Linked DNA regions of Homo sapiens: region 2 is linked to region 1. Evidence: promoter capture Hi-C in human tissues and cell types (Jung and others, 2019). All regions are on one chromosome and are shown on one strand. Each heading gives the region's core, a stretch centred on a gene start or on the middle of the fragment in contact. The rest is flanking DNA. Distances are from core to core; before and after follow the strand shown.

Region 1 (7,593 bases), core at 2,228-4,727:
TAATGCCAAAGAGAGAACGAAAATTAAAGGTGTTATCTGCAGTTGTTTCACTTTCATGCTGTTGTTTAATTTTATAGTAAATACACAAAGTAGGCTTTCTAAAATGACACCCTACTTCAGTAGAGAAGAAAAAGAATGGAAATTTATGGAATGTCTTAAATGTGAAGAGGATCTTCTGGATTAAACACAATAATTACAGAATTTTAAACTCTTCATTTCTCCTGTGGCCATAAGTCTTCTGCAGAATGGAAATATTACCTTTCAAATTCTTACCACTTCAAAGGTAAATTGCAAGATTTACTGCTCTACATTCTCAGTACTTAAATGAGTCTAATAAATTTGTTTCCACCCAAACTCATTGTAAGATGGGAATTCCAGCTATCATACTTTCAGCGGAAAGTATGATTAACTACAGGTCACCACAGATACCATATATGGTACAGGACTGCCATGGGAATTACAACAGGATCCAAAAATGTGCATGAGCTTACATTTATTTATTCAGAACGTGCTTCCGTATCTAGCTGTATCTCAACAGGAACATCAACAATCTCCTTTTAATAAGGTAGCTGATAATGCATCAATCTAAATATACGTATACTATAATTTTGACTTTTTTAAGCTTGCAGTTTTAAAACTAGTTTTCATCTACTTCCTTTATTTGCCTTAATCTTCTTGTCACAAATGTAAAAGCCTTTAGAAATTACTATACTCCCTTTTAATTTAAAATGATGAATATATCAAATATTACCAAGAGCAAAAACATCACAAGTTTTTCTGGTAAGGACTCACATTATTCACATTAACCCTAACAAATATAAAAATTTGGATGCCTATTTATCAACATAGGTTGCAGGCAGAGTTCATATACTCCAAAGAGGAAAAGTACAGATTTGAGGGGAGTTATTGCAAACGTTTCAACTATTTTAGTTCCTTTAGAAGAGGAGCCCTTTTAACAAAATGATGGATTAGCCGTGTCCAAGTATGTGCCATTTATAATGTATACTAGATAACATAATCTTAAAGTGGATTTGATAACAGTATTAACACATATTTTTAAAAGAATCTTATTATTTGTAACAGGCAGAAGACAACTGATCTCATGTAAATTAGTTTCCACCATCCCTAACAATTCTGGTTACATTAAGAGGAAAAAACACTTTCTGAGGCAATCAAAAACTTACAATAGTGAGTGAGATGCTCTGATATACTTCTTTTTTTAGTATCTCCCTGTCATTTTTTTCTTTGTGCGTGTGATTATTAGAAACTGTATTTACACTTCAGAGTGTGGTGGGGCACACGGTGGGAAGGAGATACAGGAAAAATGCAGAATGGGAAAATTCCCTCAACCTGTTGGGCTGCTTACTGGGAAGACTAAAATTTAACAAGTCTCAGATTCTTGTTAAAGACTTGCTTTGAAAAGCTGTCTCCTTAGAACAAACAATGTTTTAAAGATAAGTAATGGTTTAAAGATATCCATTAAAGTCTCTATAAAATGAAAAATGTTTCTAAAATGCCGTGTCATTAATATTATATTGAAAAGTTGAGAGTCGTATGAGTCAAAAGGAAGGAAATACATACATGAGATGGTCAAGAGAAGTGTTAATTTACCCATCCGGTCCGAAATTGCAAGTGTTTGTAAACTGACAATTGCAGATGAAATAGTCATTTTCTGTGCACTTTCCGGTATTTAAGTCTCCAGATACAGCATTTAACCTAAACTCAACGGAATTATTTTAAAAAAAAAAAATCTTAAACGAGTATGTGCTAGATCAAAGCTGAAGCTTCCTCCGTTTAGATTTACGCGCACCTTCTTCCTTGCCACAGCTCGACACCCCCACCCATGCCTTGCCGGGAAAGCTCCTGGTCTTCCATGGCCTCTGGGAGCCTCGAGCGAATGCGAGAAATTCTGAGAGCAGCACCCGTAGTTTCGTTCCCCATCCTCAATCCCTTCGCAAAGGAAACACAAAACCCCAAATGCATGCTTGTAAACTGAAAAGCTGAAAATGCTTTTAAATATATTACAAAAGAACACATTCTCTAAGCCGTTTCCATTTGTAGTCACTTCATAAGCTCAGATACTTTGTTGGAACAGTTCCCGGGCAAATGGATGCGCTTATTTGTCCAATTCCTTCTCCATAAACATATCGTAGATCATAACTACCAATCCCATATTCATACCTCGCTGACCTTAAGGGAGGACAACCCTTGGACCCACTCCCACTTGCCAGGGTGGAGGGCCAGGAAGCAGTAAGAATCCGCGAGACCAGACTCGGCTCACTGCCGACGCGGGTATAGACCTCGCTCCCATCGGACCCCATGCGCATCCATGGATGCGGGTAAGTCGCGGGTCCGCGGCTCCTTTCTGGGCGTGCGGAATGAAACTCTGTTGAAGCCTGAAGCTTCGCGTGTAACCGCGCCGCCAGAGTTCCGAACACTTCAAGTCTCCCGTGTTCTCAGAGCATCGTCTCTAACTTCCTCTCCTAGAGGATTTCGTCCTGGGCGGCAGGTTTCCGTAGACTCGAAACCCCAGGCTGTGCTCCGGCCGCGCAGTCCTCCCCGGAGCCGGAGTAAGTACGACGCAACCCCACCGCATCCATCATCCCCCACCACTGTCACCCTCTACCCGCCTCCACACCTCGGCAGCATCCCCAAAACACAACACGACCCCAACCCCCATTCTGGCCCGGTCTTCCCACACTTTCGCGCCCCCGGCACATCCCGCCCCCAGCTGGGTGGCTGGCGGGGGTGGACCGCTTGGGTGAGCTTCTGAATACCCTTTAGGGGAGATACCGAGAAACCCACTTCTCAGGGGCAGCCCCACCAAGGGACCCAGGGACACAGCCCCGGCTCCACTCACTAACGAACCAATCCGGGTCAACTGCGACCCAGAGCTGGGGAGGGGGCAGCCCCTAAATCCCTTTTCAAGTCTGTGCTTTGAGCTCTCAGGGATCCTCTCCACCCAAAGGCGCCCTCCAACCACCATCACCACCAGCTCCACCACCTGGGGAGAAGCGTGAATCCCAACCCCCTGCCCAACCCGCGACGGCGCCCGCCAGAGCGCAGCGAAGCCTGAGCGCGACTCAGAATTCCAACAATCGAACACCTTGTCTCAAAACAAAAAGCTCAGTCCAGAGTCGACCCGCAAACACACGTTTTCTCTCCTCACTCCTGCAGGCCCGAACTTGGGGCTGCTACCAGACCCGCAGCATTGATCTGAGCCGCGGTTGTCACGTTTCGGCCCGCTTTGTCCCCAGCTCCGTGCAGCGTCCAGGGCGGATCCACCCCCGTCCCCACCCCAGCCCTATCCGGCGAGATCTGGCTTACCACGAGGGTCAGCAGCAGATGCAGGCAGACGGCTCCGCGCACGGAGCGCCGGGGCCCAGCGGCGGCCATCGGGATGCCGGGCAGGGCCAGGAGAACGCGGGCGCCGGGAGGGTGCCGAGAGCGAGACCTGCCGAGGTGCAGGGCGCGGGAGGTGCTTTTCTCGCCGCTGCTTGTTTTTAAGTGTATTTGGCCTCTCTCAGGCTTGCCTGCCCGGGAGCAACTTCACTTCTGAAACCGGATTGGACCCAGAGGACGCGGAGAGGCCACTCCTTGTTATTTCTCAAGTTTTATCATCGCCGGCGCGGCTGAGGAGCTGCCCGAGCCTGCCCCTCTGCTCCCCAGCAGCCACCCGGGCGTTCGCGCTCGGGAAAGCGGTCTCTGGCGCACCCTCTGCCAGTTCTCCCACGCCCCTCGGCTGCCCCGCGGCGCTGCCGCCCCGCCCGGCCCGCAGAGAGGCCCTGGCAGCCCAGATCGTCCCAGGGCGGCCCCATCGCCGGCGCTGCGCGGTGCATCTCAATGCAGAACCCCAATCCGCCCGCAGGGATCCCTGCCTCGACACGGGCTCTGCTGGATGCCAGGAACACCCTTGTCATTGGATCAGCGGATCTCCCCTTCGACGTCTGAACAAATTCTGCCAATGTTTTCAGATTAAAGCAAAATACATGTACTGTATTCTCTCCGGATTTGACTAACATGACAAAATACACGACAGAAGGAATTTATCCCAGATGGCATGATAAACAGTTTTTGGCATGTCAGAAATTAAAACCAAATTTAAGAAATTCTAATCTAACCATTTTTACGCACCCAAAATATGAGTGATTACACTCAGCGCTCTATTAACTGTCAGTTTGGGGGACTCATATGAACCTTCTAAAAACGACTTTGTTCTTAGATGTGAATTATTGGTTTACTACTTACTGGTACCAAAATGAAATTTTTCAGGTGGTCAAAGGAATATCTACCACACAAAACCTTCTAAAACGAGGCTTACAGATTCTACATCATGCAACGACTATTTATCAGGGCCCGAAGTCGGCCAAGCTTTGTGTGAGGGCATGGAAGAAAGGAAATGCAGAAAATCTAGTTCCTGTCGGAAATAATTCAAAGTCAGAAAGGGACGAAAGACAATCATTCCTAGCCCAGTAGGCTACACTTTTTAATAGAGATGTCGTTTGTAACACCAGGGGGACATCCTCTTATTTCTCCCTAAACTGAATTTTAAGTTCCCCGAGTTCCCATCTACTGGATTCAGGAGGAAATCCCTCTCAGACATGAGATGCTACTCCTCGAAGTCCATTCAAAAGTTGCAAGGTCGGGAATTTCAGACAGCCAATTAATCATGAAAGGGTGTTATGACCTTCATTCATCTCACTCTGGCTCAAGTCTAATAGACTCCTCGTCGTCTAAGCCATGTATTCCCTGAAGTCTGGGGCTTCCCTGAAACTCATGAGGCTCAGCTTTAAGGGCTCAGACACTCTAAGTTGAGCTTCCCAGTGTGAATCTCCCAGGCACCCGTCAGTGGAGGTCTCTGTATGTAAGAGCTCTTCCAGTCTCAGAGAAAGTTCTCCAAACTTCTCTCCACTCCAGGGTTTTCACCTCCCATCCTCCACGTGCCTCCAGCATGACCTCAGAGAAAGCTTCTCAAAGTCACTTCCAGCCCCCCAGCCCTCAGAAACTCAAGTAGAATGGTTTTCTTGAACTTAGATGAGTAAAGGAGATGGCTAGCACCAATCTCCCTCCCTCACCACTTTGAATTCACTGTTAGAGTGAAGGGTTGAGGTGTTAAGGCATTTTAGAGGAGAGGATCTAACTTAGCTGAAGAAAGCTTTGAAGAAGCAAAATGTTGCGATAAGCCCAGCAAAGAAAAGGGAAAGGGTAGGAGAATGCTTCAAGATAACACAACATCAACAGGACATGAGAAGCTCTGGAGAGCCTTGTGAGAGTGCCCCAGGGTAAGAAAGCAGAAAGGGGTTGGTTCAGAATGGTTACATGCAATGGCTGGGAATTCGGTTAGAAAGATGGTTCATGACAAACCATGCTGAGGAATTTAATTTCATCCTGACAGAAATGGAGAACCATCCATTCAATGTGTGAAAAGGGTTAGTAACTACTGTTACAAAATTGTCACTTTTGGTGAGTTTGCACATATGAACCCATTTGTGCTGTAATATGGCTTTCTTTAATACCTAGGGAATGAAAGACTTTGAAGTGTTTGTCTTTATTCTAACTATTCTTAGTTTTTCTATGATTTCAACTCTATCTTCAGATTTATGAGAGTCTGGCCTGGTTAGGACTGTCCTTTGAAAGACTAAAACTCTAAAATTGCTATCCCCTGATTATTTTGACTGTGCTGTGTAATAGAGGATATTTATTGTTAAGCCTACTGACTAATATGACAATTGCTGTGAGCTTCCATTTTTAGCTTCCGCAAAATAAAAGTTGTAGGAATCTGCTTTAGAAAAACTCGAAGAAAACATATTATGGATATTTTTAACTTGTATTGCAAAATTCTAGGTGCAATACGAACATTAATAACTGAATGTAGTATTAGTAATGATTTTGGAATTTCCTGTTTGTCCACCATGAGTATATTAATCTAAGTCCTAATAAAAAGCAATGCATTTTTATCATATAAAGAAGAATCTTTACAACATAAATATGACTTGAGGATAAATTAAATTGCTTATATTTTTTGCTTATATTTTCCCATATAAATTATGATTTAAAATAGTTTGTTGATTTTTTTTCAAATATGAGCTTCAGTTTAGATATAGTTAGAACTGGATGCTTTCTATTATAAAATTAATTTTAAATCATCATGAGGTATCATAAAGCATAAAGAGTTTTCTGAACTGTCTTTATCTTAATACCCTATCCCTCAAACTGCAAAGTCAGTTGGAAGTCACTGCTAAAAGGATAATGAGCCAAAATGGGAAAATAATTTATTATTTTCCCTTGTTATGTTCTTAGTTTGAAGGGTAAGAGCAGCAATAACAAAGGATCAAAAATGGGAATTGACTTTAGACTAAAGAACAAAACTTCAGAAATTCAGGTGAATTGCAACATTTTCAGCAGAAAGCAAACAAGATAATGAAGAAGAGTACTCTTACTCTGGACCTATGAGAAATCTCTGACTACGGAAGAGCTAACTAGTCTTAGGAGGTGGGACCTGACCTCTGGCCCACGAGCCAGGCTGCCTTGCACAACTCAGCACCAACAGGTGCTAGTCTAACACACCTACTCATCTCAGTGGCTTACCTGGACGGTGACATGGCAACTGTAGGTTTCCTCAAACACTCCTACGAAATACCGCCAGGACAACTGTACAATGTTTGAGACAAACTTACGAGAAAGAGCAGAGGAATTTATGAAAAAAAAAGCTTGAATTAAAAACAAGTAAAAGATTTGTTTACACCTGTGGCACAAAAATGAGTTCCGCCATGGGACATGAACTCAGAAGCATGTTTGGAATATTATTTAGGATAAATAGCCGCAGTGTGACTAGAGGTTCTGCAGATTTCCCAGAGCACTATTGAGAACAGCCACCACATTTTGGTCATTTCAAAAGACTGCTGGGGCCTTGAGGATAACAGAAGGTTTAAGTCAAAAGTCAATTATAAATATCGCATTGCTGCCCACTACCAGAGCCGTCCCAGAATCCCTATGTGCCTCCTTCTCACCTATTTACCCATGGCAAGCACCTAATTAGCACTTGGTGCTAATTTCAATCCAATGAGAATGCTACTCCACACAGCAATGAGGACCTCAACTCTAGATCCAAATGACCCTTGGCCTCCAAGGACATTTCCCCTTCCCCCTGTTCTGCTGTGGGTCTCCTCACGTCCTCACTTCTCATCCTAGGATTCATATCTCCCCAGAATGACTGACAGTAGGACTATCCCTTCCTCTCAGGAGAAAGCTCACGCCCATCCACAGAAATGTGACCTTTCACTATAACCTTGGCAACAATCATTCAAAAGTCGGACATTTGTACATTTCTCAAATTCAGCATTATCCAGTCTAAGTAACACTATTACAATAGTTTAATCCAAATAGGGTGTGCCAAGCTCAGAAAAGTTCCCTTCCAGTATCTCCTTGTTAATTAATGAGTCAAGATCTCTTACAATGGGGTTACTCTTCCTCCACTAAAATCTTCAGACTCCTTTACAAATATCCTCTTCTTCAACCAGTCCTTTTAAGGAGGGAGGAGCAATCTTCCAGTAACTTCCCACTGGCTGGAAGGAATGGTAATTTCCACACAAA
Region 2 (6,934 bases), core at 1,841-4,340, 35 kb after region 1:
GGAGGGAGAATTCACAACACACCTAAGGGAATCTCGGCATAGGATTAGAGACACACTAGAGAGACCTACTCCCAACACACAAAAACTGAGAAACTTTCATTGGTGTTTCCCACATGGTGAATTTTCTCCTATTTCATACAAAAAAAAAAAAGTATCGCAGACATCCTGATGTTGAAAAGGACAAAGCAATTTTCAAAAATATATACCATTAATTGCTTTCAGTCTCCACATTCTCTGTACTTCTGAAGTAGAACTCTCCAGACTAAAGTCAAAGGGTGGGCCATGGATAGGCTCATCAGGATCAACCGCAACAATCTCCGCAGATGACATGGTGGGTTTGCAGATGATCACTGTCTTTTTAGGTATGAATGGGCTGTTATCATTCACGTCTTGAAGTATAATGCCCAGTGTCCCCGTACATGTTCTCCCTCCTAGAAAAATGAAAATAAAAATAGTTTTTCTATGTTTTGAGTTTTCACCACAAAAGTATGCACTGAACACATTGAAAAATATTTATTAAGCACCTATAATGTAGAAGTTACAATGACAAGCAGTCACAAGCTATGTCCTCAGGGAATGTTACAAGAAAAATAGTATTACTTTCATATGGGTTGTACAAACAATGACTGCTATTAAGATGTGTTTATTCATTCGCTAAATTATTATTAGAGGCAAGTTTTGGCTGATTTGTGAGAAGAGGAAGGAAGAGAGTATGAATGAGGACACTTCTGGTATATTTAAAAGCACAAGGAAATTCAAGGAGATGGAAACGCACGTTATACACACCCGTGATCTGGAGACAATGACAGGGAAGGTAGACAGGTAGAAACTGACATGGAAGCAGGAGCTAAGGGTCTTTGAAAGCCAGACTAGGGAGCTTAGAGTTTGTTGGATAAATAGGTAGCACTTAGGTTTTGGAGCAAAGAAACTGAAGTTACATATTTGAAAGATTGTAACAAAAATAGTACATGGGAATATTCAAAGGGCAGAAGACTCCAGGAGTAGAAAATTACTTGAAAACTGAAATAATCACTGTGGGTTGTAGCCTAAGTAATTCATCTATCTGTATATTCAATAGAAACTTACAGGATAGACGGGGCACAGTGGCTCACGCCTGTAATCCCAGCACTTTGGGAAGCCGAGGTGGGCAGATCACCTGAGGTCAGGAGTTCGAGACCAGCCTGACCAACATGGAGAAAGCCTATCTCTACTAAAAATACAAAATTAGCCAGGCATGGTGGCACATGCCTATAATATCAGCTACTCGGGAGGTTGAGGCAAGAGAATCGCTTGAACCCGGGAGGCGGAGGTTGCAGTGAGCGGAGATCACACCATTGCACTCCAGCCTGGACAACAAAAGTGAAACTCCATCTCAAAACGAAAAAAAGAAAGAAAAGAAAAGAAAAGAAAGAAAGAAACTTACAGGATGACGACTTTATATAAAGCACTGCACTGGAAAATCTGGGGGATTCAAAGATGAAACAGCCATGGACCCACGCCACAGATTAGTAATGCAGTTGTGAAGTCTGAAACTGAACACAAACCCAGGAGTTCTGTCTCTAAATCATTCATTCTTTCTGTTTAAAAAGAAGGCTTTTGACATTACAGGTGGAAAACAGAATTTAAAAACCCTGTGCCATCCACTGCCTGGGGCTGTGTCTTATATGAAGCTGCCAAGCTCGGGAAGATCTCCGAGCACATCCCTGAAGTCACAACCTCAGCCAGAGCACCTGCAGCACAGCAACTAGACTCGTGATAGAGCCAGCGTCATCATGGGTCAGGAGCACTAGGCCACCAAGTTAAGAACTGGTTCTAAACCGTGGGCCACAGAGAAAGAGCAGGTGAAGGCAACTACAAGACTAGTAGTTAATATGGGCAAAGTGGGAGAGAGGGAAAAAACAAAAACAGAAAGCAAAGCAAACACCTCTCATTTAATATAAGCCTGCAAACTAAAATTCCCAAATAATCAAGATTAACACTAAGAAGGAAAACCAACAAAAGCACCAGTCAAAAGATTAATTCATTCTATCCAAGACGTCTCTGAAACAGGTATGTTTAGAATCTTCAAAGACATAAAGAGGGGTAACCAATTAAACAAGAATGAAATTACAGCTCAAATTCCAGTAGAAAATAAACAGCAACATTTACCTACCAGGGATTCTAAAAAAGAGAATAGACAGAATGGCAGAGAAGCAATAGTTAAAGAGATTAATAGCTGAGAATACTCCAGAATTAAAGAAAAACATGGCTTTTCAGATTGAAAGTATTTTCTGACTGCAGAACTAGACAAATATAAAAAAATCCACGGCATACACATTGTACTAACACTGTAGAACTCAATTTAGGGTACTATAAAAGCTACCTAAATATATTAACTACAAAAGGACAATCGTTAATCGACAGAACAAGAAGCATCAGCAAGAAGAGATACCAGAAGATAATGGGTTAATAGCTGCACAGTGCCATGGGAAAGAAGCTGTTGACTCAGAATTTTAAACCAAGTCAAAGTGTCACTTAAGTATGAGGCCAATATTAAAATATTTTTCAGAACAACAAAACTGAGAGAGTTTAAAATTCACATTCCACAATTGAAAAAAATATAGTAAAGGATGTACTTCAGCAAGAAGAAAAAAGAGCTAGGAGAGAAAACAATGAGAAGCAGGAAACAACGCAACTACCTTCCATTTTTGGACAACTTTGAAAAAGAGTATTTACATTAGAAAAAGGAAGCAGGTGGATAATATATATTTCATGTATCTGGCATATGTTTCTATTCATTAGAGCAGAATAATTTCTGTCCCTCAACTTCTCCTGTTCTCATGCTATGTGGTGTTACCTTGCTCTCTCTGAAAATTGGGACTGCTGGTTGTCTTGAACATTTGTTTCCCTTTGAGTCCACACACACAATTGAGAGCACATGCCTTACCTATTGAATCTGGTTAATTGTGCTATCTTTAAAAACTGAACTCTATAGTGCTTGCTCTTCTACAACTGGGATAAATGCTTCAATTTCCTTCCAGTAGATGTTTACAGTTGCTCACTGATTAAACTCCAATCTTTTTTTGCACATTGTGATTAATACTGTCATAGAAGAACATTTAAGACCTCAGATATCTAATCCACTGTGTTTCATAGCTGTTTTTCATATGCTGATGAGTTATACATACTGTTTTATTCATTGGAATGTCAGCATAAAATGCTCATCTTCTAGTAATAATATAATTCTACATGGACAAAGGCTAATTCCAAATATGAAGTCACATGAGGTGCACTATCCATGGTTTCATGCTTTATGTGCATGATGCTCTTCAGTCAAATGTTTTAAAATAGTTGCAAGTAACCCCATTCTAACAGCTGGAATAATACAATAGAAACATTAATCTCAAGCTCAACTAGATAGAGGTGATTTCTGGGTAAAGCTGCCCACACAATTTAGATTAAGAAGTTAAGAAGAAAAGATAAATTGAATTTAAAGCTTAAGAAATATATATGTTTAGGAGAGGGGAAGGCAGTTAAGACCAGAAAGCATGCAGGAATGTGTGGGCAAGTTTAGACATAGAAGCCTTGAGAGAGAGTTTTAAAAAGAGGAAGCAATTGCTGCGGAGATGTAGGAAGGCAGGAAGTGAGCACCAGCCCAAGACAGCAGTATCCATGAGGGAGGAGAGGTTTCCATTAGGGAGTGGCAGGGAGAACCCAAATGAAATTAGCCAGTATAGATTTTAGAAAAAGGTTTTTCAAAAAATGACACACTTTTGTATAATCTCATTTCATTCAATTCACAAAGTAAACACATGTGGAATTACTGATTCACAGTTCTCTCACACAGAGTAACACAATGACTCCCACCCTCTTCAAAAGAAATGAATGCGAACAGCCTCATTACACATTTATTCTATATCACAATGATGATAAGCAGTGCCCCATCTCAATTCCATAACAAATATTTGATCTCTCAATCACTTAAACTCCTCTGCAACAGACGAGAATGTAGAATAAAATTATAGGCAAAATTTCTAATTTCAGACAGCAATTTTTATCTCAACTGTCAATAAACTATTTCCAAGTGCCGTTGAGTTTCATGTTTTTTTTTTCTTTTCATTTGCCTTTGACCAACAAGTATTTCTTGGCAAAAAGACATGAGAATCTGAGGCCTTAAAGGACAGTCTTTAATTAGTTAAAGACAAATCAATAATGATTACAACTTCAGCAATTTAACAAACTGAGTCATTTCTCATTAATTTACAGAGAACTGGAATACATAAATCATCTTCCAAAATCACTTCTAAATTCTAATTTTGCAAGTTATAGTATAATAATTTGTTTGTTATATTTAGCATATTTATTTTACAAAGACATAAAGTTCAAATTCATGTTATAGAAATTATATTTTATGCACCAAACGCGTCTCATAAATAATCATCATACTCATATTTCTCTCAATTTTATAGAATGCACAGAACATAATTTTACATTTTATATGATTATATGAATTCATAGTGTTTGTCTCTCTAATTTTATAATATACTATTTATTTACCATGATCATAAATATACCATGATTTATTTTTATATAATGTCTTTAATCAGAATTCTAACCCCCAAGTATATTGTTAGCTTCCTGTAAAAAGTTAGAGCTGTTTTCCAGGACTGCACTGTGTAAGTATGTTTTCCAGGACTGCACTATGTAAGTATGTTCTCACTTTCCTACAAAGTGAACACTTTAAGCGAAATAAGTAGATAAACTGAAACAAGTTTTGTTTTTGTTTTTGTTTTGTTTTTGTTTTTGTTTTTGTTTTGAGACAGAGTCTTACTCTGTCGCCCAGGCTAGAGTGCAGTGGCGCGATCTTGGCTAACTGCAACCTCCACCTCCTGGGTTCAAGCAATTCTCCTGCCTCAGCCTCCCGAGTAGCTCGGATTACAGGTGCATGCCACTACACCCAGCTAATTTTTAATATTTTTGGTAGAGACGGGATTTCACCATGTTGGCCAGGCTGGTCTCGAACTCATGACCTCAAGTGATCCTCCAGCCTTAGCCTCCCAAAGTGCTGGGATTACAGGCATGAGCCACCACACCCAGCTGAAACAAGTTTTACTAAAATAATTTTCTCAATTTTTAATAATTTTAACTTTAATAAATTATGGTCTCAAGTGTTTCTAAGAGTAAATTATTTTATAATTACATCTAAAACTGAGAAGGCTATTAGAAAGCAGACATGAGTTAATAAATTATAGTAAACCTCTTACTTTATATTATCAAGAGATATGAAAACAGAGTGCATGTATCCAGCTTTAAAATGTATACTGTTGGCTTAAACACTGAAGATGTATGTAGCCAAGGAAGTATGTAGCTGGCTTAAAGACAAATTCTTACCTTGGTCTGATGCAAGGACTGTAATATTATATATGCCATTTTTGATGGTCTCTGCCTCTCTATCCAGGCTTCTGAAAACTTTGATTGATCCTGTATTTTCATCAATGGTGACCCACCCTGTTGGATCAGTTAATTTCTTATACCTGTTGGTAATGATGAATTAAAATAATAAAATTTATCATATGCTAAATTATAATAACGTAACAAAATAAGCTATATATTTTAAAACTAAAATAGAATGGTAAGTACCTTATGCCACTGCTACTTCTTGTTTCTGGGTCATATGCTTTATATCCATTGCTTGTTGTTCCCACTTCTGCATTTTCTTTCATGCGAACAGTCTGTATTGGAGGGTTACACTCAGGGCCCTCATCCTGATCTTCTACATTAACAGTAACTGTTGCTGTGCTCATGGCTGATCTTGGACTAGCCTCTCTGGAAAATGGAGCTTCATTAACTACACCAATTTGCAAGATCATCTGTTGCTTTTCTTCATAATTCAAAGGCTACGAAAGCAAATGTATTGAAAAATCAGATGAACTCATTTAATATTTGGCAATGCTAACGAGTATATATAATGTTAAATTTGGAAATATGTTAAGTGTCATGTTGGGAATAACCACGAGAATATGAAACATATATCCAGTGATATGGTTTGGCTCTGTGTCGCCACCCACATCTCATGTCAAATTGTAATTCCCAATGTTGGGGGAGGGACCTGAGGGAAGGTGATTGGATCATGGGGGTGGATTTCCCCACTGCTCATGATAGTGAGTGAGTTCTCACAAGATCTGGTTGTTCAAAAGTGTGTAGCACATCCCCCTTTGCTCTGTCTCTCCTGTTGCCATGTGAAGATGGGCTTGCTTCCCCTTTGCCTTCCGCCATGATTATAAGTTTCCTGAGGCCTACCTAGTCATGCCTCCTACACAGCCTGTGGAACTGCGAGTCAGTTAAACCTCTTTTGTTTATAAACTATCCAGTCTCAGGTAGTTCTTTATAACAATGTGAGAACAGACTAATACACCCAGAAACCCAGTGGTGGTGGAGACAGAGGAGTTCTCCCACTGATTCAGTACTTGGGTAAAGCTGGAAAAAAAAAAGGACAGAAAATTGTTCTTCAACTGCAAATTTAAGATAAGTAGTATAACAGGTATTGATGAAGATTTCAGAGAGTATTTAATGAGGGTTCTTGGATATTAATACATGAGATACTCCTTTAGGGGATTCATACTATAAACAATAGTTATTTACTACAAAATAAATTTTAGGACAGCTTGTCTTACCCTCCTAAGATGAATAAAATTATTTGTACCTGGTATGAGGAAGAGAAAAAAATGGGTAAATTTTTTTAAAATGCTTTTAAGAGGAGCAAGACAAGAAAATACAAAGCTTATGGGCATCATATTTTCTTTTTTTATGTGTGTCTTCCATTCCAGTTCCTGTCTTAAAGACGGGAACATATTTAATAAAAGGTTTTATTTTATCTTGCCTGATATGTAGTTGTAATGAGAATTAGTGAAACCATGCCCTAGAAGACAGAAATTTTTTCAGGTCTTGGACTTCA

Evidence for each region. The method cuts DNA at HindIII sites, captures the fragments that hold promoters and counts their contacts. A contact is called where the count stands out against the background at its distance.
Region 2: a fragment that was not itself captured here is called in contact with the fragment with the promoter of DSC3 in region 1 in 2 of the 25 tissues and cell types used here (H1 embryonic stem cells and mesenchymal stem cells).

Annotation. Positions count from the first base shown.
Region 1 is chr18:31,039,265-31,046,857 of GRCh38, forward strand. It overlaps DSC3 (desmocollin 3), which reads right to left and starts at 3,478. Exons shown (of 16, transcript NM_001941.5): 1 at 3,328-3,478. The coding sequence starts at 3,396. It overlaps LOC124904345 (a long non-coding RNA gene), which reads left to right and starts at 2,269. Exons shown (of 2, transcript XR_007066445.1): 1 at 2,269-2,570; 2 at 3,178-5,962. The HindIII fragment of the contact is 2,576 bases long and covers 2,094-4,669 here.
Region 2 is chr18:31,074,477-31,081,410 of GRCh38, forward strand. DSC2 (desmocollin 2) reads right to left here. Exons shown (of 16, transcript NM_024422.6): 10 at 5,620-5,876; 11 at 5,371-5,513; 12 at 207-431. Among named protein-coding and RNA genes, the nearest start is that of DSCAS, 24 kb to the right of the region's middle. The HindIII fragment of the contact is 4,053 bases long and covers 1,065-5,117 here.